Regions from separate parts of the Homo sapiens genome. Here region 2 is linked to region 1. Evidence: promoter capture Hi-C in human tissues and cell types (Jung and others, 2019). All regions are on one chromosome and are shown on one strand. The core of a region is centred on a gene start or on the middle of the fragment in contact, and the rest is flanking DNA. Distances in the headings are between cores, read along the strand shown.

What was found. Contacts are between HindIII fragments. The study calls those that stand out against the background at their distance.
Region 2: a contact is called between a fragment that was not itself captured here and the fragment with the promoter of SCGB1D2 in region 1, in 1 of the 25 tissues and cell types used here (mesendoderm cells).

What each region holds. Positions count from the first base shown.
Region 1 is chr11:62,240,977-62,244,399 of GRCh38, forward strand. It overlaps SCGB1D2 (secretoglobin family 1D member 2), which reads left to right and starts at 1,263. Exons shown (of 3, transcript NM_006551.4): 1 at 1,263-1,386; 2 at 2,313-2,500. The coding sequence starts at 1,332. The HindIII fragment of the contact is 7,638 bases long and covers 1-3,423 here.
Region 2 is chr11:62,370,652-62,374,145 of GRCh38, forward strand. The region is part of intron 4 of ASRGL1 (asparaginase and isoaspartyl peptidase 1); the gene reads left to right. It also overlaps the pseudogene RCC2P6. Among named protein-coding and RNA genes, the nearest start is that of ASRGL1, 35 kb to the left of the region's middle. RefSeq lists enhancers at 61-583, 584-1,106. The HindIII fragment of the contact is 5,556 bases long and covers 1-3,494 here.

The DNA.
Region 1 (3,423 bases), core at 13-2,512:
CATAGGTGGGAATTGAACAATGAGAACACATGGACACAGGAAGGGGAACAGCACACACCAGGGACTGTTGTGGGGTGGGGGGAGGGGGGAGGGATAGCATTAGGAGATATACCTAATGTTAAATGATGAGTTAATTGGTGCAGCACACCAACATGGCACATGTATACATATGTAGCTAACCTGCACGTTGTGCACACGTACCCTAAAACTTAAAGTATAATAACAAAAAAGAGAGAGAAATTTCTAGTGATTGATTTCCTGCTCACACCACACAAAGGCATCACAGCAGGAGGGCAGGAGGGTGTGTATTGCTTTGTCTGGGTGCTTCCTTCCCTTTCTATTAAAAATGGGATTGGCTCAGGCTGCACAGCTAGATTTGAAGTGGAAAACTTGAGCCTAGAGGTTGGGGGGAAGTGACCACTCACCCTGATCATCTGTCTCTTCTTTTCCATCTTCTTCCCCTCCTGGAGCCCCAGAGCAAAGAACTCTCAGTACCTGTCCGATGCATGATTGGCTCTGGACACTCCAAAAGCTACTTGGAAAAAGTTAGGCTATGTAATCATCAGGTCAACCCATCAACATGTGGGTGGCTACACATCACAGAAAGCTTGCTCCTCGTAGAGAGAAAATGTGAGTCTTGGCCATATTTATAGCTGCACTCATAAACAAGACTCAGGTTTGGGAGTGAGACAGGCTAGAGAACAGGTGCAGCAGTTGCTTTTCCCCAGGAAATCCTCCAAAGGTAAGATGCATTGAACTAGGTTTTAGGTACCTATGCAGTGAACATGGTGGTGATGGGAGGGGCTGAGGGGAATAGGTCTTGTTTAGACTTGCTCAATGTGCAACTGAAACAAGCCTACTGGTTGTCAGACATGCAGGGGGATCAAAGCAGGGTTTCCTTATGTCCCTGCTCCCCCATAACCAGAACACAGCCTTCCAGCTTCCTGTGCCTTCCAAAGTCAGAATTTACCTGTGCCCTTGAACTGATACAAAGAAAAAAAATAATCAGCAAAACTCAGAAGGAAACAGAATCCCAGGAATATTTCCAGAGGTGCCTGAACATTCACCTGGAACACAGAGCAGAGTTCCTGCAGGGCTACCCTCCTGTGCTCTGCCCCAGTCAGAGTGCAGGGAGGCGTGGGGAGGTGACACAGATGGATGGCAACAGCCCTGGGAAGGAGAGGTGGGCTGGGAGCCAGGCCTCATGACCAGTACCAGCTAGACTCCCTAGGTACAAATAGCCCTGGGCTCTGCAGCTCCACAGGCTCCTGGGGTGGAGTCCAAATCACTCATTGTTTGTGAAAGCTGAGCTCACAGCAAAACAAGCCACCATGAAGCTGTCGGTGTGTCTCCTGCTGGTCACGCTGGCCCTCTGCTGCTACCAGGGTGAGTACATCAGTCATGAGTCTAGCTCCAGCCCCTGGGAAGCACCCTCTTCCAAGCACGAGGTCACCTATTCAGGCTGGGGTTAGGATCTGCACAAAACCAAAATTCCAAACCTTTTTCTGTGCTTGTTGAACAAGCCCCTCATCAAGTTCAGAGCTATTTCTTCTACTCCCCAGCACCTACGAAGTTTTATTGAAAATCAGTGCAGGCAAATATTAGGAATTCTTCTGCCTGAGCTTCACTCCTGGGTGGGATCTGTGTCAGATGATGTAATGTGAGGTCTGGGGTGAATCTGGGATCCGCCACTTCCCAGCCCTTTGACCTTGGGCACAATGCTCACCCTCCCTGAGCCTCCTCCTATCACTGGTAGTTAGCGCTTCTGCCAGGAGAGGCTATGAGAATGGAGTAAGAAAGATTAATACTGTCAAAAGAGTCTAGCTGTGGGCTAAGCATGGCGGCTCATGCCTGTAATCCTAGCACTTTGGAAGGTCAAGGAGAGTGAATTGCTTGAGCTCAGGAGTTTGAGTCCGGCCTAGGCAACGTGGCGAAACTCCAGCTTTACCAAAAGAAATATGAAAAATCAGCTGGACGTGGTGACATGCACCAGTAGTCTCAGCTACTTAGGGGGCTGAGATGGGGATATCGCTTGAGCCCAGGAGGTAGAGGCTGCAGTGAGCCATGATTGAGCTACTGAATTCCAGCCTGGGTGACAAAGGGAAAAAAAAGAGTTTGGCTGTTGATATGAAGTGCTTTCCTTTATTGTGAGAGCTTGAGGAAGTCACACCTGAAGGGTCTGGCATTGTCATCAGCACAACAAATGTATGTGAACATATAACCCAGGGGATCCTGTCTGGTCTAACGTCAGGGAGCCAAAGAGAAAAATCGACTTTCCTAACATCAACTATATTTTTATTCTTTTGCTGCAGCCAATGCCGAGTTCTGCCCAGCTCTTGTTTCTGAGCTGTTAGACTTCTTCTTCATTAGTGAACCTCTGTTCAAGTTAAGTCTTGCCAAATTTGATGCCCCTCCGGAAGCTGTTGCAGCCAAGTTAGGAGTGAAGAGATGCACGGATCAGATGTCCCTTCAGAAACGAAGCCTCATTGCGGAAGTCCTGGTAACTTCTTTCTCCTTTATTTGTTAAGGCTTCTGGTCAGCTGCACAGTATGAAGTGAGGTCAGCTTGCTGCTCTGTTGGGGACACAGGTGGTGGGGCAGCTGCCTTGCTGGTCACCTCTTGAGAAGGTCACCTGGGGCCACAGGGTGGGTGCCACCATTTCACCTGCAGAATTCAACTCAGCTGCACACAGCCTCCTGCATGTTCCTCCTTCTCATGTCACCTGCCTGGATGCCATGTCCCCAGAGTGTGCTGAGGACATGGGGAGTGAGCCTGGGCCCAGGCAGAAATGGTAAAGGGCCAAGCATGGCCGCCTCGCTGCTGGGAGCTTTCCTGAGACCAAACTGCCCTCATGTAATGGACACAGTCACTGTGGAATGTCCTGGGGAGCATGGGAGCCTTGAACAGGGAGAGGAAGGCAGGGAGGGACATAGAGCAGGGGCTCCTGCAGATGTAGCACTGGCAGGCTGGACTTCTCTGCAGCTTCTGCAGAGCCAGGAAGGAGCCCCTCCCAGCTCCTGAGACCCCATACTCCCCTCCACACCCACGACACTCTCCTGACCATGGCCAGTCGTCCAAGACCCTAGCTAGTCTACCTCCTGCAGTGCCATGGAAGCGGGATGTTCTCACTCTGTCTTTCTCAAGAAATCAGAGGTTTTCCAGGGGCCTCTCTGCCTGGCTGCCTCTGAGTTGCTGTCCTGAGGTTTAGCTGCAAATGCTCATGGAAGCTGCAGGCTCGGGACTGAGAGGTGCTCGGGCCCTGAGGCAGAATTCCCACATGGGGAGGCTGGAGTCTCCTGGAAGCCAAGCTTCCCAGAAGCCCTCTCAGCCCTGACCAGCCTCTCAGTCCTGGGTCCCTCACTGCAGGAACCAGGAGACTCCAAGCCCTGGGACAGCCCAGGCAATAACCTCTTGCTGCTCTCT
Region 2 (3,494 bases), core at 157-2,656, 130 kb after region 1:
TGGGACACAATTGAGTTTGTCCTGTGCAATTGTGGTAGCATTGACCTCAAGGTGCCCAATCTGTAATAGTTCTGAATTCATCATTTTGTAATATCACCGCACTATTGGCCACACATTCTTCCCAAACTAAAACTTCTGTGTCTTTTGATCCTTTGGGAATTTCCGTGGGGCAAGGTTTTCCTTTAGGCCTAAATTTTAATGATCTTTGATAAGGAAAGTCCTGTAAATAATTTACCTGTGGCCTGTGTGACATTCTGTTTACCATGTGATAAGTAAGTCTACTGGTGGTACTGACAGTAGGTACTGCTACCAACCAATTTTGGATTGCAGCATTAAACATCCTGGCGCATTTTTAAGTGTATCTGAGTGGGCTGGAGCCCTCGTCTGGGCCAGGAAAAAAAAAAAAGCCCTCCGATCCGTCTTTTAGTTGCTTCTCTTCCTTTTTTCTCTCTGGTTTCTCATCACTCCAACCAGCCGCAACCATGCCCAGGAAGAAGGCGGCGGTGGCGGCCTGGGAGGAGCTGAGCTCGGGCAACGGCACTGCCCACGCCAGGGCCCAGGAAACGTGGCGGCCCCGCAGCCGGAAGCGCGAGCCTCCCGAGCGCTGCAGTAGCAGCAGTGGTGGCAGCAGCAGCAGCGGCGACGAGGACGGCCTGGAGCTCGACGGGGCCCCCGGCAGGGGCAAGCGCGCGGCGCAGCCTGTGGCAGCAGGCAAGGTGGGCGGTGCGGCTGTGGTGGTCGCCGAACCCGAGCACACCAAGAAGCACGTCAAACTTGAGACGTGCTGTGTTTACTCAAGGTTTAATGGATTTAGGGCTGTGCAGGCTGTGCTTTGTTAAAAAAGCGCTTGAAGGCAGTATGCTTGGTAAAAGTCATCACCATTCTCTAATCTCAAGTACCCAGGGACACAATACACTGCGGAAGGCCACAGGGACTTCCTCACAAAGTGCAAAGGGGAGCTTTTGATTTTGGGGGCAACCAACTGGGACTTGATTGGTCGAAAATAAGTGCCTAAACAAGGCCAGGAGTGGTGGCTCAGGCTTGTAATCCCAGCACTTTGGGAGGCCGAGGCGGGCAGATCACAAGGTCAGGAGATCCAGACCATCCTGGCTAACACGGTGAAACCCCGTCTCTACTAAAAATACAAAAAAAATTAGCCGGGCGTGGTGGCGGGCTCCTGTAGTCCCAGCTAATCAGGAGGCTGAGGCAGGAGAATGGCGTGAACCCGGGAGGCGGAGCTTGCAGTGGGCCGAGATCGCGCCACTGCACTCTAGCCTGGGCAACAGAGCAAGACTCCGTCTCAAAAAAAAAAAAAAAAAAAAAGTTCCTAAACAGGAAGCTGCGTACGGCAATATCCGTCAGAATTTGTGGGGACCCCATAGGTATGGGTGCCTGGCGGGGGTCCGGGTGCGGACAGTGGTCTCTGGCTCCTGTGCTGCACACAGCCTCCTCATCACCACAGAAGGAAAGCTGTGGAGCTGGGGTCGAAATGAGAAGGCGCAGCTGGGACATGGTGACACCAAGAGAGTAGAAGCCCCCAGACTCACCGAGGGTCTCAGCCACGAAGTGATTGTGTGCAGCGTGTGCGCGGAACCACACCTTGGCCTTGACGGAAACGGGCTCCGTGTTTGCGTTTGGGGAAAACAAGATGGGGCAGCTGGGCCTTGGCAACTAGACAGACGCTGTCCCCAGCCCTGTGCAGATAATGTACAACAGCCTGCCAATTACCAAAATGGCCTGTGAGGCTGCAAATCAGTATGATAATGGACTGCAAAGGAAACCTCTATTCCTTTGGGTGCCCTGAATATGGTCAGCTGGGACACAACTCAGATGGGAAGTTCATTGCCCGGGCACAGCAGATAGAGTATGACTGCAAACTAGTTCCCCAGCGAGTGGCCATCTTCATTGAGAAGACAAAAGACAGATTCTGCCTGTACCAAATATGGTTATGCGAGACGTGGCCTGTGGCGCTAACCACATGCTGGTCCTGGACTCCCAGAAGTGAGTCTTCTCCTGGGGCTTCAGTGGCTATGGCTGGCTGGGCTACACAGAGCAGAAGGATGAGATGGTCCCCCGCCTGGTGAAGCTATTTGACTTCCCTGGGCATGGGGCTTCCCAGATCTATGCTGGTTACACCTGCTCCTTTGCCGTCAGTGAAGTGGGTGGTCTGTTTTTCTGGGGGGCCACCAACACCTCCCATGAATCTACCATGTACCCAAAAGCAGTGCAGGACCTCTGCAGCTGGAGAATCTGGAGCCTGGCTTGTGGGAAGAGCAGCATCATTGTGGCAGCCGATGAGAGCACCATCAGCTGGGGCCCATCACCGACCTTTGGGGAACTGGGCTACAGGGATCACAAGCCCAAGTCTTCCACTGCAGCCCAGGAGGTGAAGACTCTGCATGGCATTTTCTCAGAGCCGGTCGCCATGGGCTACTCACACTCCTTGGTGATAGCAAGAGATGAAAGTGAAACTGAGAAAGAAAAGATCAAGAAACTGCCAGAATACAGCCCCCAAACCCTCTGATGCTCCCAGAGACTCCTCCGACTCCACACCTCTCATGGCAGCTGTCATTTCCATGTGCACTGGGACGGGAAGTCAAACAAGGAATTTAAAAAAGCAAAAGTGGACCGAAGGTGCATTTTTATTTAGACTCCCTGAGGTTCCGTTTTACAAGTGATCCAACGTTAACTACCTTTTTTTCTGTTTGCTTTCCAAAGACCCTTTTTTCCTCTTAATGTCGAATTAAAATACTTGCTCGTAGTTGACTTACCATTCCTACAAAGAGGCAGAAACTTTGAGCAATCTAGGTGTTTTTTTTTTCTTTCTTCCTCTCCTGAATACACTCCCCAAAACACTCCTTTCCAGTTATAATTAGCATCGTGATCTAAGTGGATGCTACATGGAAGAGGAATCGCCATTTACTCAGAAAAAATGTCCCTTACAGGAACCGGCAGCAGCTAGGCGAAGTCGCCGGCCCACCTCCATCCAAAATCATGCTCGCGTGCTTCGGAAGCATCCGGGTCACTCCTTTCCCGCTTTTTCTTGCAGATCGGCCTAGGCCGGTGTCAGTTCTGTTTCTCCTCTTGGCTGCCTGTACACCCACAGCCTTCTGGCTGCAACATTATAGAATCAGCTGTGTCCCCCCTGGTGGGGGATTGGGGATCTGTGTTTAGCCACTTATATCTACTTTAGCTGTTAAAGAAGTCCAAATGAAAATCAGGTGATTATGGAACCATGGGGACTTGGGGGTGGAGCAAAGGTGGGAACATTTGTATCAGTTGAGTCAGCTTCATGGCTCCCTGCGGAGCCAGGGCTGAGCCTTGTCACACGCACTCGCCAATTAGAGATTGATCAGCCAGCAGTCAAATGCATTCTCCAGTCCTTGCAAGAAGGATCAGCCCTTTCTGTACCAGCCTCGATCGCCTTGTACTTTGGTCTCCTTTTCTCCCCTGCCTGGATCCTGCCTCGTGCGGGCCATCCTGTTGCTGAGACT